Regions from separate parts of the Homo sapiens genome. Here region 1 is linked to region 2. The links are contacts of gene promoters, found by promoter capture Hi-C in human tissues and cell types (Jung and others, 2019). All regions are on one chromosome and are shown on one strand. The core of a region is centred on a gene start or on the middle of the fragment in contact, and the rest is flanking DNA. Distances in the headings are between cores, read along the strand shown. Region 1 overlaps MYO9B (myosin IXB). Region 2 holds the start of CPAMD8 (C3 and PZP like alpha-2-macroglobulin domain containing 8).

Evidence for each region. Contacts are between HindIII fragments. The study calls those that stand out against the background at their distance.
Region 1: a fragment that was not itself captured here is called in contact with the fragment with the promoter of CPAMD8 in region 2 in 8 of the 25 tissues and cell types used here (H1 embryonic stem cells, bladder, dorsolateral prefrontal cortex and 5 more).

The regions. Positions count from the first base shown.
Region 1 is chr19:17,167,052-17,171,009 of GRCh38, reverse strand. It overlaps MYO9B (myosin IXB), which reads right to left. Exons shown (of 40, transcript NM_004145.4): 11 at 2,946-3,067. Among named protein-coding and RNA genes, the nearest start is that of USE1, 46 kb to the left of the region's middle. The HindIII fragment of the contact is 6,459 bases long and covers 1-3,958 here.
Region 2 is chr19:17,024,983-17,029,148 of GRCh38, reverse strand. It overlaps CPAMD8 (C3 and PZP like alpha-2-macroglobulin domain containing 8), which reads left to right and starts at 2,339. Exons shown (of 42, transcript NM_015692.5): 1 at 2,339-2,598. The coding sequence starts at 2,507. RefSeq lists an enhancer at 1,259-2,167. The HindIII fragment of the contact is 4,679 bases long and covers 1-4,166 here.

The sequences.
Region 1 (3,958 bases), core at 1,180-3,679, 140 kb before region 2:
TGTGCAAAAAGAAAAAAAAAATTCCATGATGAGCAAAAATAGCAAGATTTTAAAGAGACTCGAGCCTGCTGGGCCAGGCCTTGCCTCACGGGCTTCCCCTGATCTGACCCTGGGAGTTTCCTGGTTGTGATGACGTAGCTCCTCCTACTGCCGTCTCTACTTTTTTTTTTTTTTTTTTAATTTTTAGAGCTGGGGTCTTGCTCTGTTGCCCAGGCTAGAATGCAATGGTACAATCACAACTCACTGTAGCCTTGACTCTCTGGGCTCAAGTGATCCTCCTGCCTCAGCCTCCTGAGTAGCTGGGACTATAGGTGCATGCCACTGTGCCCAGCTAGTTTTTTTTTTTTTTTTTTTTTTTTTTTGTAGAGATGGGGTCTCACTATGGTGCCCAGGCTGGTCTTTAACTCCTGGTCTCAAATGATCCTCCACCTCGGCCTCCCAAAGTGTTGGAATTACAGGTGGGAGCCACCGCACCTGGCACAAATGCTCTTATCTGAACATTCTCTACCTGGACCCCAGCCTCAGAGGGATGTGTCTGTCTCCCTGACCTGGACAGGGACTAGGTTTGAGGCAGGGGATGTGCCTCATTCATTTGAGTCTCTGGCCAGCCCCTTGGAGATGTCATTGGCAAGGGATGGGTCTGATAGAGCTGCTGATAAGACAATATGTCCATATCTTAACCCCATACCACCAACTTTTGAATGTGACCTTATTTGGAAAATAGGGTCTTTGGAGATGTAATTAGTTAAGATGAGGTCATTAGCGTGGGACCTAGTTCCATATGGATGGTGTCCTTCTAAAAACAGAAGACAGGGTCAGGTGTAATGGCTCACACCTATGGTCCCAGCACTTTGGGAGGTCAAGGTGAGAGGACTGCTTGAGCCCAGGAGTTCAAGACTAGCCTGGGCAATACAGGGAGATTCCATCTCTACAAAAAAAAATTTTTAAGCAGCCTGGCCAACATGGTGAAAAAACCCCATCTCTACTAAAAATACAAAAATTAGCTGGGCATGGTGGCAAGGCACCTGTGATCCCAGCTACTCGGGAGGCTGAGACACGAGAATCGCTTGATCCTGGGAGGTGGGGGTTACAGTGAGCTGAGATGACGCCAATTAACTTGAGCCAAGATGGCGCCACTACCCTCCAGCCTGGGCAACAGAGCAAGAAGAGCCTGTCTCAAAAAAAAAAAAAAAAAAAAAAAAAAAAAGGAGGAGACAGGATTGAGATGAATGATGCAGACACAGAGGGAAGAAGTCCATGTGAAGAGGAAGAGGGAGGCAGGGACTGGAGTGATGTGGCCAAAAGCCAAGGAAAGCTTGGACCCCTAGAAGCTGGAGGAGGCAAGAAAGGGTCCTCCCTTGGAGCCTCTGGAGGCAGCACAGCTCTGCTGACAGTTTGACTTTAGACTTCCAGCTTCCAGAACCATAAGAGAATAGATTACTGTGGTTTTAAGAACTCCACCTCCCGGGTTCAAACAATTCTCCTGCCTCAGCCTCCCAAGTAGCTGGAATTATAGGCACCCGCCACCATGCCTGGCTAATTTTTGCATTTTTAGTAGAGATGGGGTTTTGCCATGTTGGCCAGGCTGGTTAAAAATTTTTTTGTAGAGATGGAATCTTTTTTTTTTTTTTTTTTTTTGAGACAGAGTCTTGGTCTGTCACCCAGGCTGGAGTGCAATGGAGTGATCTCCGCTCACTGCAACCTCCGCCTCCCAGGTTCAAGCAATTTTCCTGCCTCAGCCTCCTGAGTAGCTGGGATTACAGGCGCCTGTCACCATGCCCGGCTAATTTTTGTATTTTCAGTAGAGACGGGGCTTCACCATGTTGGCCAGGCTGGTCTCCAACTCCTGACCTCAGGTGATCCGCCTGCCTCGGCCTCCCAAAGTGCTGGGATTACAGGCGTGAGCCACTGTGCCTGGCCGAGGTGGAATCTTTCTGTGTTGCCCAGGCTGGTCTTGATCTCCTGGGCTCAAGAGCCCACCTGGCTTGTAGCGGTTCCTTAGAGGAGCCACAGGAAAGTAGTTCGGTATGTGTCACGTGATTTCAGTGACTACAACTGGGTGACCCAGAATGAGGTGCCTTATTGACCTGTCTGCCTTCACAGCGCCCTGTGGACTGTGGGGATGAGGGAGGAAGGCTCAGAAGTGAGACCAGAGCCCAGCAGCATCTGGGTCCCAATTCCACACACTGCACTGCCCTTTGTAACAACTCGCCAATCCTGTCTCTTGCTCCATTGCCCAGGCTGGAGTGCAGTGACACGATCACAGCTCCCTGCAGCCTCAACCTCCCAGGCTCAAGTGATCCTCCTGTCTCAGCCTCCTGAGTAGCTGGGGCCACAGGTATGCCCCACCACGTCTGGCCCCAGTGTCTAGTTTCTAGGCATAGGCCCATAATCCTTTGCTGAAAACTCCTGGCGGATGTGCCTCAAGTGCACGAATTAATCACACGTGTTGATGTTTTCACAATGAGGTGTTTGTGCATTTTGCACACACGAGCTTGGGTTTTGTGGTCAAGTGAAATGAACAGACACAAGTTCTCAGCACAAGGTCTGGCGTGGTGGCACACGCCTGTAATCCCAGTACTCTCGGAGGCCAAGGCGGGAGGATCCCTTGAGCTAAGGAGTTCAAGACCAGCCTGGAAAACATGACGAAACCCTGTTGCTACAAAGAAATACAAAAATTAGCCGGGTATGGTGGTGTGACCCTGTAGTCCCAGCTACTCCAGAGGCTCACGTCAGGGGATCACTTGAGCCCAGGAGGTCAAGGCTGCAGTGAGCTTTGATTGCACCACTACACTCCAGCCTGGGTGACAGAGTGAGACCCTGTCTCAAAAATAAAAAGGCGCTCTTGGGAAAGTCTGGATTTGGGGTAAGGCTCTGGGGGCTGCAGAACCTGACCCAGTGCCCATGCGTAGATGTGCCGGGATGGACGGGGTGTGGACACTCACTTGCTCTCCTCGTCCAGCAGGTAGAAGAGGCCCGTGGGTTTCTTGCTGATGAGATGGATGCAGCCGACATTGTCTGTGTAGCCGATGTTGTGCCACGTGATCCCCTCGCCCTGATATTCCTCCTGCAGGGGTGGCGCGGGGTCGGTAAGTTTCTTATCTCCCAGATATGTAATATCTACATAACATATATTGCATACAGGTCGAGTATCCCTAATCCGAAAATCTGAAATGCTTCAAAATAGGAAACTTTTTAAACTGATGCGTGGCTTAAAATTAACTCTAATAGGGCTGGGCACAGTGGCTCACGCCTGTAATCCCAGCACTTTGGGAGGCCAAGGCAGGTGGATCACCTGAGGTCAGGAGTTTGAGACCAGCCTGACCAACATAGCAAAATCCCATCTCTACTAAAGATACAAAATTAGCCAGGCGTGGTTGCACAAGCCTGTAATCCCAGCTACTCAGGAGGCTGAGGCAGGAAAATCGCTTGAACACGGGAAGTGGAGGTTGCAGTGAGCCAAGATTGCGCCATTAGTCCTACTCCAGCCTGGGCAACAAGAGCGAAACTCCGTCACAAAAAAAAAAAAAAAAAAATAGCTCTAATAATACACTTAATTTAACATGATATATCCAAAATGTGATCATGTTAACATGTAACTGACATAAAAAGTAACTGAGAGGCCAAGGTGGTAGGATCGCTTGAGGCCAGGAGTTCAAGACCAGCCTGGACAACATAGCAAGATCCTGTCTGTGCAAAAAATAAAAAGTAAAAAATACTTTACTGAGGCTGGAGGATGGCTTGAGTCCAGGAGTTTGAGACCAGCCCGGGCAATATAGCAAGACTCCATCTCAAAAAAAAAAAAAAAAATCCAAAACTTTTGGACTGCCAATGTTATGTGATGCTCAAAGACAACGCTCATTGAAGCATTTCAGATTTTGGATTTTCAGATTTGGGATGTTCAACCAGTAAGTATAATATAAATATTGAAAAATCTGAAAAAAATCCCAAACCTGAG
Region 2 (4,166 bases), core at 1,090-3,589:
GCATGAGCCACCACGACTGGGCATGGCTTGTTTCAATAACTTCTCAGCAGCTAGGGAAGTGAAGTCTGTGGCTGATGGGTGGGGTGCAGCTGGTCTGGTTGCTTGGTGAGACAGCCAGGTGGAGAGCAGCTTCTCTTGCCAGGCAGGGGGCATATTTGGCAAGAGTAGCTGAACGGTCGGTCAGGACATCGTGGTCCTGTGTGGCTCAACCATGCCAAGGCAGCACTGACATTTTAGACCTTACAAACCAGGCAGGCAGGGAAGGCACCTCCGGGCTAACCCTGAAGGTGGAGGAGAGCAGCCGGTCTTGTGATGCCACGGGGAAGTGCATCCCAGGCAGAGGGGACAGCTGGCACCTTGGCCCAAGATGGTGGTGGTGGGTGGGGGTCTGATGTATCTCAGGAGCAAATGTGGCCAGAGCCCAATGGTCAAGGGGGAGGCGGAGGGCTCAAAGGCTGGCCTGGAGGCTGAGGAGTGGAGGTTGGCTTAGGTAGGAGTCAGAGTTGGCCTGGAGGGGCCCGGAGGGGTGGCATGGGGCAAACTTCGATGATGAGGGTGAGATCAGATGCTGCTTCTTGGTGCTAGATTTTTGCACCTCCATGTGAGTTTAGCAGCCTGTTTGGGGTTGGCCTGGTCTGAGCTTGGAGGCAGGCAGCTCCTCCTCTTCTCCAGGCAGGAGAGACGGCTACTCAATCTACTCCGGCCCCTGCGCGCGTGCACGCACACACACACACCAACACACCATCATCAGTTACGTCCCCTCTGGGTTGTGTGCTCAGTGGCAGCAGGTCCTGTATGTCCCAGGGTCCTCATTGCCCAGCCCAGGGCTTGGTGCTGCCTGGGTGATCAGTGTTGGGTCCAAAGGCTGTTGACAGGGCTGAGAAGCCCCCAGAGGACCCACATCCCTAGGGGCAGGGAGGGGGCAAGAGAAGCTTCCCTTGAGTTTCCTGGAAGGATCAGGAGTTGGACTGGCAAAGGAGGCAGGTAGAGGAAGACAGAGATTAGGCAGAAGCAGGCAGTGGAGTAAGAACAGGGTGTTGGAGGAACTAGGCTGAGGTCTCTGCCATCAAAGCCAGAGTTTAGATTTGGTCTCAATAAACGGGAAGCCCTGGCTGGATGTGGTGGCTCACACCTGTAATCCCAGCACTTTGGGAGGCTGAGGAGGGAGGATCATTTGAGCCCAGTGCTCAAGACCAGCCTGGGCAACACAGTGCGACTCCGTTTCTAAAAAAAAATATATAAAAATTAGCTGGGTGCGGGCTTGCACCTGTAGTCCCAGCTACTCTCCAGGAGTCTGAAGCTGCAGTGAGCTGTGACTGCACCACTAAATTCCTGCCTGGGCAACAGAGCAAAACTCTGGTCTCAAAACATAAAAATAAAATGTAAAATAAACAGGGAGCCCCGAGGATTCCGGGCAGGAGGGGGTGTGGTCAGCACTGGAATTTTAGAAGAAGGGCAGTTGGTAGCTGGGGGAAGGGGGTTCCACACTGGAAGGAGGGGGTCCAGGACTTGGACATGGTATAGGATGTGCCGCCTGCCAGTGGGACCTAGGACAGCAGGACCATCACTGAGGTGGCCACACGGGGAGGGGCAGGAGGGGACACCCTGCTCTTGGAGAGAAAGGGGGTGCCCATCCACCCCTGCTGTATGAAGGGGAAAGGGGGACTCTGAGGCCCAGCGAGAGAGGGGACGGGCCCAAGGGATTTGTGGACAGTGGGGGTGGGGGAGAGGGGAGCAGAGAGCACAGATAGGGACCTGGGGCAGATGTGAGTCTGGGAGGTTCGACCCCTGGCTAGACTGTTTCCCCAAAGGGTCCTCTGCTCCTTGGGCTGTACGCACTGCACTGGGCACTAGATACAGGCCAGGGCTTAGGGCACGGCGGCGCCTGTGGGATCGGGGTTGCAGGCGGCGTCCAGACCCAGGGGCCCCTGGTGAGGGGCGGGCCCGGGGAGGGGGCCATAAGGGGCTGGCTGGGGAGGGAGGGAGGGAGAGGCCAGGGAAGGGACAGGTTCCGAGTGGACGCTGGGTGGAGAGGAGAGGGAGAGTGGGGGCGGTGGGGGGTCGGGTCCGAGGCGGGGCTGGTGGGGAGGGGGGCATCCGGGGGCGAATCCGGGTAGGGGGTGAGGAGGCGGGTTCGGAAGGAATCGGGCAGGGCCCGGGTGGGTCCGGTGAGTAAGTGAGGGGACGATCCCCGGAAGGGATCGGGGCGGGTCGGGGTCCGGAGATGGGCGGAGCAGGCGTCCCGGGAGGGTGCGCCCAGGAGCGGGGCGAGCGGGGCGAGCGGGGCGGTCCCGGAGACGAGGCGGGTCCGGGGAGGGGGCTGGCCCGGGGCTGCCCCAGCTTGGCCGGGCGCGGAGCGGGGCGCATGGCGCCGGGCGCACTGCGCGGGGGCTGCGAACAAAGGGCCCCCGGCGGCGGCGCGAGGACGGCCGCGCTCGGACCCTGGCCCTGGCCCAGCCCTGGCCCGGCCCCCTCCCCAGGCGCGGCGCCCCCCAGGAGCCGAAAAATGAGCGGCGCCCTGCTCTGGCCGTTGCTCCCGCTCCTGCTCCTGCTGCTGTCGGCGCGGGACGGCGTGCGCGCCGCGCAGCCTCAGGCCCCGTGAGTATCCTCCGGCGACAGAGGAGGTCGGTCGCCTTCTGGGGTGGGGGTCGCGGGTACTGGCTCAGAGTGTTGCAGCGACCTGCCCAAGGCCACACAGCCTCCGCGCTGGGCTGGACCTGGCCTCTTGTTCCCGAATCGTCTTGAGGAGGGGGCGCCCTAAAGTTTCCGAAGTGGCTCTGTGGAGGTACAGGGACTCCCAAAAGCTAAAGGTGCTGAGGTCAGCTCCCCCCGCCCCACCTCGCCCCCTTCGTGTGACCCGGGCTGTCATCATGGGTGGCGATTTCCAGTTGTCCAAGGTATGAAGGTAAGAGGAGCGTCTTGGCTGAGAAGTGGGAGGAGAGTGCGAAGGGGCACTTTCCCGTGGGTGGGCGTGGTGAGGGAGGAGGAAGTGTTTGTTTTGCTTCTACATTTTTCTAGAGGTTTGCTTGCAGGCTTCTGGTGGGTTGACAGCGGGGAGAAGGTGAATTAACTAACTGCTGGGGAGTACTGCTAAGTTGGCTTCACAGAGAATATTTCTAAACCTGGCAAGTTCGGGTGAGCTCTGCAGGGCTGCGGGTTCAGGGGGGCTGCCCTGGTCTGCACAAGACCAGCCTTTTAGTCCAGCTGGGCGTTTAGAAGGCGGCTTGTTCAAGCAGCCCTTGTTTAGGAGTTTCCAGAAAACTGGTAAGCAGTGAGACTAGGTGGGTGTCGTTATTTGCAGTGAGTAGTTGGTCCTTGCTGGTCACAGTTTTAAAAGCAAGACAGTCTACTGCGCTCTGAGCATCCAGACTTCCCTCTCCTAGGCTTCGTGAAATCGGAACCCTACAAATTTTCATCCTAATGCTTCTTTCAAAGCTGGCATCCCTTAGAATAGTGGTTCTCAGCCCTGGGGGGGATTTTTGTCTCCCTGAGGCCGCTGGGAAATGTCTGGAGGTATTTTTGGTTGTCACAAATAGGGAGAGGCATTTGGTGTTGGCATTAAGTGGGTGCAGGCCAGGAATGCTGGTAAACAGCTTTCGATGTGCAGGTCAGCTTCCACTGCAAGGAATGACGCGGCCCCACATGACAGACCTTGGCTCCAATGAGAGACCCTGCCTTATACAGAGGTTTTTGTTTGTTGTTTGTTGTTTTTGGGGTTTGTTTTTGTTTTTGTTTTGAGATGGAGTTTTACTCTTGTTGCCCAGGCTGGAGTGCAATGGCACGATCTTGGCTTACTGCAACCTCCGCCTCCCAGGTTCAAATGACTCTCCTGCCTCAGCCTCCTGAGTAGCTGGGATTACAGGCGTGTGCCACCACACCCGGCTAATTTTTTGTATTTTTAATAGAGATGGGGTTTCTCCATGTTAGCCAGGCTGTTCTGGAACTCCTGACCTCAGGTGATCCACCCACCTCCGCCTCCCAAAGTGCTGGGATTAGAGGCGTGAGTCACCGTGCCTGGCCCGTTAGAGAGTTTTAAACAGTTCTCCAGGGCGTTTTCCTCTGACTAAAGTCACCCTGTGATCTTACCATCTGTTAAGTGACATGGAATCCCTGTGCTGAGAGACACACTGGGGAAGAGATGTCCCCAAATGACCGACCTGGGATTC